Linked DNA regions of Homo sapiens: region 1 is linked to region 2. Evidence: promoter capture Hi-C in 16 types of primary human blood cells and fetal thymus (Javierre and others, 2016). All regions are on one chromosome and are shown on one strand. The core of a region is centred on a gene start or on the middle of the fragment in contact, and the rest is flanking DNA. Distances in the headings are between cores, read along the strand shown. Region 1 has its middle 56 kb from the start of TYW3. Region 2 holds the start of LHX8-AS1 (LHX8 antisense RNA 1).

Evidence for each region. Contacts are between HindIII fragments. The CHiCAGO score rates a contact against its expected background, and 5 or more counts as called.
Region 1: a contact is called between a fragment that was not itself captured here and the fragment with the promoter of LHX8-AS1 in region 2, in 1 of 17 cell types (endothelial precursors). The highest score is 5.3, in endothelial precursors.

The regions. Positions count from the first base shown.
Region 1 is chr1:74,785,998-74,791,749 of GRCh38, reverse strand. No RefSeq gene overlaps it. Among named protein-coding and RNA genes, the nearest start is that of TYW3, 56 kb to the right of the region's middle. The HindIII fragment of the contact is 2,030 bases long and covers 583-2,612 here.
Region 2 is chr1:75,128,755-75,135,169 of GRCh38, reverse strand. It overlaps LHX8-AS1 (LHX8 antisense RNA 1), which reads left to right and starts at 2,594. Exons shown (of 2, transcript NR_187397.1): 1 at 2,594-2,816; 2 at 3,217-6,415. LHX8 (LIM homeobox 8) reads right to left here and starts at 782. Exons shown (of 9, transcript NM_001256114.2): 1 at 216-782. RefSeq lists enhancers at 1-477, 2,635-3,834 and a silencer at 4,740-4,940. The HindIII fragment of the contact is 3,701 bases long and covers 1,313-5,013 here.

The sequences.
Region 1 (5,752 bases), core at 348-2,847, 340 kb after region 2:
TCCGTCATTTTGAAGTGATTAACATTCTCCAGATGTTTAAATCATCAGATTTCAGGAGTTTCTCTTTGTTGTGATAATGATATAGTATCCAGAACAAGAATGTTTACTTTTTTCTGTGGGTCAAACGCAGATTTTTCACAATCCTATTAAGGCATGCAGCTCATTATAATTGTATGTACAGATGAAAGCATATTCAGTTATTATTATTCCCCTTAATTGTAAACTGCTGCTGGTAATTTTACTGTAAAGCTCAAACAAAAGGAGAATACTTGAAAGGACCACCACTGCCCACTTATGTAATCAATTTATATATGTCAAGTTTGTACTGGGATGGTTATCCCCTTCTGTTACCAGACATGTGACATGCTACCACCCTGCAGCTTGGGGCCATGCATGCATGTCTCTGGCTCCTTTTGCAGGCTGCTTGGAAATACAGTACATGTCGGTAATAATGTTAAATGACAGCTTCAAACTATTTCCCTTAGGCCTGTTTGACCCGTGGGTTCAAGGTAAAACAGGAATGGTTCCGCTTACCTTCAAGACCTGAGCATCCTCACCACTGGCAAATTTAACTTGGAAGCTTGGTGAGGTTCCCTGGAGATCCAATTACCCTTGTTAGGGGACCTATTGAAACATTAATGACATGTAACCACTTCATTCATAAAGTTGGGCTCAGCTCATGCCTAGCATTACCTCCCACACACCCGCTTCACATCTGAAGTGCTTGTAGGGTTTTATTAAAACCGTTTGACTAGGGCACAAGCTGACTACACGCTTATTATATGCTACCTCAACGCAGATAAGGCTGAGAGGGGGTTCTCAATCTCCATGTGCCAGTGCAGTCTTATAGAATTGCATTAATTAAGAACAAGAGATATACAGAATAATGTCTCCAGAGCTGTTCATTATTCATGCTTCTGGTGGTTTTTTTTTTTTTTTTGTCTGTTGTGCTGCTGACATATATGTTCAGGAATTTAATGTGGTACTATTCCATACATTGCCATACAATTTTTCTCTCTCAAACATACCAACAGAAGGAGGAAATGTCTTCTTTTTGTGTTCTTGTGAGAAATCAAAGCACTGAAATTGTTAGATGATGATGAGTCAGACATAGAATACCTTCTTTCTTACTGGACTGAAGCCTTGGTAATAGGCTAATAATTAATAGTTACCATCTGCTATTCCTTGTGCCCTACCTTCAGATCATTCTTCATTTGTATTTGAACACACACATTCCTTTTAATCATTCCATGGCCATTACAGTACTTTGATAAACCTTCAGTCCCTAAAATGTTTCCAAATCACCCCCATCTGACATGGACCCTTGAATTAGAACTTTATTAAAGAGGAAATGTGTCTAGTAAGTGACAAAGGGCTGGAGCATTGGGCTGGGAATCAGGTAACTGGGGCTGTCTTCATTGTTATGTCCAAGCATCAAAGCAGGCACCTCAGCCAGTCCATTGGTTCAGTGCATTAGCATTTTGTTCTTACCTTTCCTGAACAAATGTAGTGGCCTCTTCTTTCACGTAAGAATGGGTTTCAACCCTCCTGTCTATGTACCCCTCATTTTTCCTCTATCTAGAAGAATGTTGACTCTGGGATTATCATGAGACCTGAACATCATTCTTTCTCTAAATTAGAGAAACACATTTGCTTCCATGGTTTTATACATTTCAATTATGTTTCCACCGGATATTGAAAGGATCCAAAATGTCTTGGGTAAAAGAAAAAAAAAATGTGCAGGGGAATCTGGGGACATAGCAACTCTATTTTTTATTTATCACCATCATCATCACAGCTACTCTTCACTTAACATTGATAGAGCACATTTTAAATCTTCATATCAAATTAAAATGAGAATATTATTTCAAAATTTTAAAATGGTTCCAGATAGGGTAAATGACTTAACCAAGGTCTTAGATTTGTTTATTCATTGATTGAATATCTAGTTTGCTGAGCACTGTACTTTATGTTTATCATAGAGCAGGAATAAAATAACGATTTCCTGTACTAGGAAAGAAGCAGAGCCAACACTAGAAACTTAGGGTCAGACTGCTTCTGCTTCTATTTCCCATTTTTTCCCCTGACATCTGGACCCATTGTTTTTAAGCATAAAAATAATTTTCTGTTGTGATTTGTTTTTATTTGACAATTAACCTCACGAAACAAATGGTGGCCACACTTCTCCAGGGAGGATAGGCAATGGCTATAGAGGAGAAGAAAGAGCACGCAATTTATTTTCTCAAATTATTAACCCTTCACATTATGATACTTCTTTTTTCCTGAGATCCCAAACTAATGTCTTTACTGATAAACCAAATCATATCATTGGCAGAACAGAGTTCTTTTTGATAGGATAAAATTTCCTAGACCAATTTTAGACTCATTGGGAAATTTGTAGTAATCTTCAAAATGGCTAAAAATGTTAATGGTGAACCTTTCATCTTGAGCAACCTCTCACCCATGAGCTACTATCATAGATCAATGATGTTCAAGAGCATAAATATGTAAAGTTGAACAAACAATGGGGAAGGTATCAGTAGGACATTCTTAAGATTGACCAGTCCTCCCAGATCTCTAGCAAGTAATTTAGCAGGAGATGGAGAGAAGCTTTCTTATTTTTGTATTAATACCATATTAAATAGACTCCTTAATGAAGTCTGTAGATGTTCCCTTCTTTAGCTTTTAAGACTTTTGAATTAATGTACTTAAGTCTCAGGCAATTTTCTTCTGTTTCATTTCCTTGATACAAAAAAATGTGACATGCAGTTTAAGTCTGAGTATTTTTAAAATTTCAGTATGAATGGCTATAGTCTGTTGGCAGAATCAGAATAATGTGTTTTGGTAATTTGTTATGCAAATGAATCTTAAAAAAATTCTTTATCCCATTTCTCTCTCTTCGCCTTCCTCGTCTCCCTCTCCTTTCTCCTTTCCCCTTCCTACCATTTGCTTTTCTTGATATATTGGTTATAAAGACTCACTGTCTCTACCTTCTTAGTCTATATTGGATCAAATTGTTTCAACAGATATTGTATCTAGGCCCTAGCAAACATTTCTTAGCTCTTCACTTTAAGGCCATGTTTTTCATCCCCTCACTCACTGCTAGGTTAATCTTCCTCATATTTCATTTTCATGTTAGTAAATAACCACTAGCTAATATAAAATCCAAACTCCTTTGGATTTTTTAAATTTTATTTTATTATTATTATACTTTAAGTTTTAGGGTACATGTACACAATGTGCAGGTTAGTTACATATGTATACATGTGCCATGCTGGTGTGCTGCACCCATTAACTCGTCATTTAGCATTAGGGATATCTCCTAAAGCTATCCCTCCCCCCTCCCCCCACCCCACAACAGTCCCCAGACTGTGATGTTCCCCTTCCTGTGACCATGTGTTCTCATTGTTCAATTCCCACCATACTGAGAATGATGATTTCCAATTTCATCCATGTCCCTACAAAGGACATGAACTCATCATTTTTTATGGCTGCATAGTATTCCATGGTGTATATGTGCCACATTTTCTTAATCCAGTCTATCATTGTTGGACATTTGGGTTGGTTCCAAGTCTTTGCTATTGTGAATAGTGCCGCAATAAACATACGTGTGCATGTGTCTTTATAGCAGCATGATTTATAGTCCTTTGAGTATATACCCAGTAATGGGATGGCTGGGTCAAATGGTATTTCTAGTTCTAGATCCCTGAGGAATCGCCACACTGACTTCCACAATGGTTGAACTAGTTTACAGTCCCACCAACAGTGTAAAGGTGTTCCTATTTCTCCACATCCTCTCCAGCACCTGTTGTTTCCTGACTTTTTAATGATCGCCATTCTAACTGGTGTGAGATGGTATCTCATTGTGGTTTTGATTTGCATTTCTCTGATGGCCAGTGATGGTGAGCATTTTTTCATGTGTTTTTTGGCTGCATAAATGTCTTCTTTTGAGAAGTGTCTGTTCATGTCCTTCGCCCACTTTTTGATGGGGTTGTTTTTTTTTTTTTTTTGATCATTTATATGTTCTTTTTAATCATCTCACCCTCTCATAACTCATTTCTGGGTTAGCATCTTTAGTAAGTATATTATGTAACAGTTTACCATTTACAATGTAGCTACACAACTGATAGTCCATGAGAGACTCCCAAAAATCTTAGATGAAGCTTGGAGATAATAAACTACTTGTCTAACATCTCACTGGTATTCAAAGAGCATGCTTAGGCTTGAACTTTGGCTTATTGCACCCAAACCCTAGGGACAGGGATTGGCAACCTATGACTTGAGGGCCGAATATGATCTGCTGCCCATTTTTGTAAATAAACTGTTATTGAAATATAGCTAAGACCATCTGCTTTTCCTAATGGCAGAGTTGAGCAGTTGTGACAGTCATTGTATAGAGTGCAAAGCCAAAAATATTTACTATTTGGCCCTTTACAGAAAGATTGCTAACCTTTGGTCTAATGTATCAAAATCTGATCTTTAAAATTAACAAAAAACTCTTAAAAATTATAAAACTAATACACGTTTATTGTAAGAACTTTGCAAAATATCAAAAAGTCTCAATATTCATCCTATTTGTCCTTCGTTTTCCCTCCCTAAACAATTAGATCTCAGAGCCTGTAGGTGGAGCTGAGCCTTGCAGTGGGGTAACGGTTTAGGAGTTGCAATGGCCCAGAACAAGGGCACACCTTACCCATTTCCCTTAGTGATTAAGAGAAAATAGGACGGCATATTCATAGGAAGACTGCCTTGCATGGGGAGTTAGAGCCCAAGCAAGGTAAGGAGGGCATTTCTCTGTGTGGACAGCCCAACATGTCTTACACAGCTCCAATGGGATAAGAAGGGATTGGAGGGAGGGGGTCGCTGTGGGGAGTCAGATCCTGAGTAGGATAGGAGATTGCTACATACACAGGCATTAGTCAAATAAGAAATACTAAGAATCATGAGAGCTAGGTTTCTCATTGTCAAGGAAAGGATTTGCAAATATGAAAAGGATGAAAATGGGAAAGAATACTGTGAGATTTGCTTGGAATTGAAGGCATTGGTATTAATTTATAGATTTCAATAACTATAGGAATATATAAAAATAAATATAGATGTAAACATAGGTGTAAATGCATATGTTTTACAGCTCTGTATACTGAGGGCCCAAGAACAGTGACAAGCAAATAATTAGCACATTTGGCTCTAAAATGTTATCTTTTAAATGCCGTTCTGCACTAAAAGAAATCAAGACTCCTTAGAGAAATGACTTGGTCCAGGACTGGAAGAAGGAAAATACAAGATGAGCTCAGAATACTTTGCTGTGACAGAAAGCAAAAAAGTACTCAACAAATGATGAGGCATGTAAGCTTCCACTGCTCAAACAGAGGAAAAACTAAGCATCAAAATAGTGTTATTAATAGATTACAATAAAACAAAATAAGAAACCAGTTAATAAATTGAAGTTGGATGAGAAAGAATATTAGCATAGTGCCAAAGCATCTCTCTACAAAAACACTTCTTAATTACAAGTAAGAAGAGTAACTTTACATGGAGAAGCCTAGAGGACACAACTTTAATAAAATGATCAAAGTGAACATGATTTATAATGCTGACAAATCAAAACTGTGAACTACCTGATAGGATACAATGAGAATACATCATTGCTTCCTGTGATATTCATGCCTCAGATGCATAACTAGAATCTAATCACTAGGGAATTCCAGACAAACACCAATTGGGGGACACTCTAAAATTACTTGCTTGTAAA
Region 2 (6,415 bases), core at 1,345-3,844:
TTAGGTAAAATGGCTCTCCCGGCAAGCCCAGGGATCCCGGAGGCCTTTCTGGAGCCCCGCAGAGGGAGGTGTGCCTCAGGGCAGGCAAGTGTCCGCGGGCAGCCGAACGAAACGAGCCAGGTCTCCGGTTCCACCCGACAGCCGCCCAGTCCTCCCGACCCACTCTCCCGGACCGCCACGATCACCACAGCAAATAGAACAAAAGCACGACTCACATGGACCTGAGAGCGCCTTAGGCTCGAGGCTTCATCTCCCAAATTACAGTCTCCATGTCTCAGGTTAAGTGAGCTTTTGGGGAGGGAGTGCAATGATTACTGACTAACGCTACTACGTAATAAAAAAAAAAAATTGCCAGGTCTGAAGATGAGGCCGTTACAGGTAGTTTCTGAACCTTGTTTAGGAGCCCAAACAACTCGAGTTTCAAGGACACTGCGATTCAGCTGGTCTGGCCAGGCGTCGGCTCGCTCACCTTCTCAGGGGGAACTGCCAGCTCCGGCACGTCCTTTGCTACTAGTTTACACACAAACATCTGATCGTTCTTCCAATACATGGCACTGCTAGGGCTGCTTATCACATACCAACTCCAGAGGGTCAGAGGCTGTCCGTGTCTGCCGATCTCCCCCCTCCCCCGCCCCGATCCACTAATAAAAGCTGATGCCGAGAAGGATAATGCTACAAGTGTGTCTTCGTCCAAAGAGGCCGCTGTGGCCTGACCACTTTCTGATGAACCGTTCTTAAAATTCCTTTCCCAGCTTCACTGAGCTCTGAGTGAAGTGAGCACTGAGCTTTTCCTGAGTCCCTCCAGGAAAAGAAAAAAAAAAAAGTTTTGTTTTCCAGAGGGTGGAACCTAATATAAAGGAAGGGGGCGTGTGGGGGAAAGTCTTTCCTGGAGAAATTGCTTCGCCTCTTTCAGGAAAACCCGCCTTCTCTACATGTTAAAATCTTTATCAGAACACGCCAACTGACTTCAGGTTTAGTACTAAAGAAAAAAAAATTGGGGGATGTCCTGTTAACTTGACTTTAAAAAATCTGCTGTCTGCATTTGCCATAACTTTTAAATTCTCGCTCCCCAACCCAAACCTAAACAAAGATTCAGGTTACATCTCTTTCTGCAGCAAGCAGAAGGGGAAGTGGAGGTCTGGGTGACTTGAAAGTTTTAGTCATTCTCTTGAAACTCGCAGCTGTCCGGTGTAGCCGAGGAATGCCACCGCTCCTGGCAGCCTGGGAGCTGACTTATCTAGCAGTTCGCGCTCCCTTTCCGAAAAGTTTTCTCATTAAGATAAAGAAGGAACATCTGAGCAACACAAAAGCTTATGATTTGCGACTAGATTTGAAATCAAGGCTACAAGAAAGACAAAAGTATGTTGCTAATGAGTATTGCTCTTTCATCTCCTAGACAAAATGTAAGCCCGAGCAGCCTTGTCTTCTGCCTCAAGTTCTGACTGCGGGGCGGGGAAGCGGCGGAGGGAGGTATTCAGGGTACCTTAATTTTGATTAAGATTGGAAGGTGTGTTTGTTTAAACAGACTCTTTGTGGTATAAACTTTATTTCATTATTTAGTGTATAAAGACAAATTTGGTTAAAAGATTATTTTTAAATGATTTTTGTTTCCATTTAAAAAGCTAAACTTCTGAAACTAAGAAGATCTAGGAGTCTATTTCTTAAAGGCCTTTAACAGAATCATAGGATTTTGCTTTAATTAGATGGAAATATATATGTAAAACACACACACGCACACACACATATCTTATCTCCTTGCCTTATTTGTATAGAAGAAAAAGAGCGAAATGATCTTGCCCAGACCCCAGCTCGGTCAGCAGCCGGCTAGCGGAGGAGATAGATAGCCTTTCCTGTGATGAAGTGAGCCTGTGTAAGAGTCTGGGACCGAGTTACCACTACAAATTTAGTTTTTCCTCCATTGCATTTTTCTCCCATAAACACTAGAGTCTTCAGAGCATTTTCCTATCGCCATTGTTTTTCTTTTCGCGCAGCTGCGCACAAGTTAATATTAGCCATCCCCCTGCCGGTCCTCTCTGGGAGATCTCGTTTAAATTTACTGAGCGAAGGGAGGAGGACGATATAATTAATCTGTGCCCTCTTAGAAAATTGAAAGATTGGGGTGGACTGACTTTTCAAAAAGCTAACTTGTGCGTGGGAACCAGAAAGACTTGTGTTTTTCATCAAATGCAGAAATCGGTATTGGGGGTGGTGGAGAAATTCACATAATGCATTTTCCATGAAATAGCATCGTTGTGGAGACCGCTCTTCCGAATGGAAAGTCAGAGTCGTGCAGAACATTGGCGCCATCAGGTCGTGTATAGAGCAGGATTTCGTTGAAAGTGGAATTAAACATAAAGGTCCGGTTTGGATATTTAATTACAGTGTGTGTGTGTGTGTGTGTGTGTGTGTGTGTTAGGGTTTAAAGTGAATCTGGGGTACTGTCTGGCTACTATCGAGGAGAATTTATCGCGCGGGTCATTTGGAGATCCAGAGAGAGCTGGAGCTGTGTTAGGGAAGCAGGGCGGGGGTGCGGGCATTTATGCGGTCTTTCCACCCACCCTCGCCTAATCAGGCGGCTCTCAGTCAGGTTTTCAAAATACTAACCTTGATCTAAGAGCGTCTATCTCTGCATAAGTGGAGAAAATGATTCATTTTTAGAGGTTTCTGGGCTTGGGGAAGAAGAATGGTCGTCAGACAGGAGCAGAAGACGTGAAAGATTGGTCTGGCCTCGCTTTACTCCAGGCGCCTTGTGGGATGCTGACCTGTCCCGGGGTGCAGCTGCGCGCACCCCTCCTTGAGCTGTAAGCCTCTGGGCGGTGAGTCAATTTCTATGTCCTGGGCGGTATAAGCCTTTGGCTGGGGGTCGAGTGTGCAAGAAGAGGGGAATGTGTTTGCTATGAATCCCAGGGCTGATCGTCCTGTCGGTCTGGGGTCCAACGACCTTCTGACCTTTTGTCAGGGGTGGGCGTACGAAGGTATAGCTTCTTCCTGGTGGCCCGGTTCCCTGGAGCTCGCGTCACGCCTCTTACCCACGCTCATCCTCGGCTGGGGCAACGGAAAAGTTATCTTCCTACTTTACAGGGGTGCGCTAAAAATCAAAAGAGTTTTTGTTTGTTTGTTTGGTCTTAGTAATGAGGGTTTTTAGCCCAAACGCCAATTGATTCCAATTTTGAACGAAGACTCTGATCAAAAAAACATCATCTTATGTGTCCACAGGTGGAAAAGCAATCGCCTGCGTCGTGACAGTTCCTACCTACTAAATTGAAAATTTGAAAATCAGAGGCGGCAGGCCCACCCAAGGTGTCTACCAACATCCGTGGACCACAGGGCTTTTTGCAAGCCCATGGGAAAGACAGCCTGAGAGACTTCGGAGTGCGTCCTGTCCCAGGCTGTGCCTCTCCTGCTTAAGGGAAGCCTTGAGTGTATCTCCCTAAAAACAGATGGGGGCAGGGAAGGGGTCTAGATCCCGTGGAGCCAGGCCTTGATTGGAGGTCCGGGCTGGAGAGAGGGAACATCAACCCGCCCTGACCCCCACAGCTTCCACTCACCCGAAGAGCTGCCTAATTGGGCTGCGAGCAGCTGCGAAATTTGTAATCGTCTAATGAGCCTTCCGCCTCGGTAATTCTTATCAAAAGGCATAAAACTGATATTTTCACACTCAGCTCGCACTGCAGGCGCCGTTTATAAACATCCTTCATCAGTGGGATGAAATTAAGCCTGCATTGACAGAGGTCTCTGGAACTCGATATTTAAAAGCAATAGATCCGAATTAGCAAATTATAACTTTAAGTAGGGAAAGTCCCCACCAACTTGACTATTGAACCCTTTGCCTCTGAGCTCCTCGGGGTGAGTAACCACACGTTTGAGAGAACTTAACCTGGAGGTTCTGCGGTGCTCAGGCAATCTCCGGAAACTCGGATTCCCGAAACTGCCCCTGCTACGGCTCCTCCCGCCCGCCTTCTAGGGACTCGCCTGGGTCAGACCTGTGGAGATCGGGGCGAGGCACAGCTGGAGCCTGAGAGAAAACGTGGTCAAAGGAGGCGCATCCAGGACTCCCGGGCGGCCTGCAGGCGCAGAAACAGAGCCCTGCTCTTGCGGACCCGAGCTTTCCCTGGCCCGCGGCCCTCACCGCCCACCTCCAGGGCTCCAGCGCCAAGGGTACAGTGGGCCATAGGACTGTAGGAGGCGGTGGAGGATGGGGAGACTTTCGCGATCATAAGAAGGTGCGGATTCTGGCAGAATTCTGGTTGGCGACTCCTTCGATCCCTGAAGGTGAAATCTCAGCTAAAACCACTCTGAAACTGTGGATGTCACACTTGGTTCAGGGTTAGGAGACCGTGTCTTTGGATTTTTGCCCATCACGTGTAACCATTATAAATATTAGTCTGGAAAAAGACTTTAGGAGATTGCTTCTAGAGGTTCTTTCCACAAACTTACCCTGCTCAGAATCTGCATAACCCCTCAGAGATGGCAGAGCTGTATACGGGCTCACCTTGGGACTTACCGGTCCCAGACTCCGTTTTATACCTTGCTACCCACAGTTTCTGAGGGTAAGAGAGGGGTGCTTTTATTCACGCCAGTGGAGGTCGCCAAAAGCGGGCGAGGGCCTCCGTCTGGGACCCACTGGTCTCTCTCCCACTGTGGGCCAAGACTGAGGTTTGATGGGCTTCCCAGCTGGGCAAGCCTGCTCCACGCGGGACACCCGGGAATCCACTGGCGGGCAGACCCTGCCTTCGCCACCCGCCCCGCGGCATTCCTCACTGCGGTCTGATGCGCCAGCTGGGGCCAGTTGTTTCAAGCGGTTCTGGAGGACCAATAGCGGAAAGCCAAGTTCTGCGACCAAGAGTCTGTACGAGTGACTCGGTGTTTCTTTCCAGCCGGTTCGCAGAGCGCCAGTAAGCTCTCCCGGTCCGCTACGGAAGAAATAGGGGAAGCGTTTCCAGTCTAAGAGAGAGGATGGGAGAGAGAAAATTAGGAACCACGCCGAAATTAAGCAGGGCAGCCTGGAAAGCTTCCCGGCTAAAAGCTATGGCGCGAAACGCTAAAGTCCATCACACCATTTATTCATTGTGACATTTCCAAGCCGACAATAGCGCCTTAAGCACGCCTGTGGTTTGGAGGTGCCGGTTTTATATGCATTTTACTGTTTAGAATGATAAACAAATCAGGACCAATGGAAACCTGATTCTAACCTCTTTCTACAGAACTCTGCCTGCATAATTCTGTAAAAGCCGAAATCCAAGGTGGCCAGAGAGAGAGAGAGAGAATCCAACTCTCTACCCGCCTCCCTTTACCGCGTTTCCCTACAAGTCCTAGGCAAACCGGGCAGATATAGCCTGGAGTTCGCTGATCAAGAAAGAGGATGGAACCGAGGCCCTTCAGGCTTCTCCTCCCCTTCCACATCCCCGTTTTCCCACTTCCCCAGGGATGTCTGAAAGCCCAACTCGGCCAGTGTGGCAGGAAAGTTAAACTTTATCTAAGTGCAAAAACCAGATGGTTTTCTCGGTTTCTGGGGATAGGTGAGAGGCAGAAGTGGGGCTGTGTGAGCCTCCTATTCACAGGCTTGGATGACATTTTGATAAGGGAACCCTCAGCTCAAGTTGTTAGCCAGGGTGAATGAGCCCCACACAAGCCTGCGCCGACCGCCCACAACTTTGGTGTCTAAGGTTCTCCCCAGCAACACTTCCACCTCCGGTGTAACTCGTAAAGCTATGCTTTTACAAAAAAAAAGTTGGCCCAAGAATCTTGAGCCATGAATTTTAAAAACTTAAATAACTTCTATATGCCATTTCTGCTACAGGAGACTGGTTCTTGTAACTGTGGCAAGGTTTTCTTCCTTTCCTTCCTATCCTCCTCCTCTCCCTTCCTCCTTCCCTGCTTGCCTTCCTTCCTTCATGGGAGTTCAGGGTTTAAGAGGTAGGCAACGTGTTATTATAGTAAGAGCACAGGTTTGAAGTTAGTAAAATATGTAATGGAATTTTGAGCAATTTAAATTTTTAACACTTGAGCTTTCTCATTTGTAAAATGAAGATGGCATCACTTGGAAATTGTCATAAAAAATCACAATGTTGAATTAAGTGCTCATCCACACAGGAGGTTCTTAGTGAACATAATGTTTCTCCTACCACATCCTCCTTCACCTCTCTAGAGAGGTCTGGATGTAGAGGAGCCACCAAAGGCCCAATTTCCCCAGTGAAGGGTAGGTCAATGTTCTTCAGCGAGTTGACCACTTCTAGGGGTTCAGAGGGTCATGAGGTTAGACGCACCTCCCTGGGCTGCAGAGGCTCCAGAGATGAGTGCAGCTGCCTGTAGCCACCTCTGTCGTGGCAACTAGGCCCAAGGATGCACAATGAACACCTTTTTCATCTCCTTTGTCGCTGGTTTATTTGAGAGTTAATCTATAACATTTAAAAAT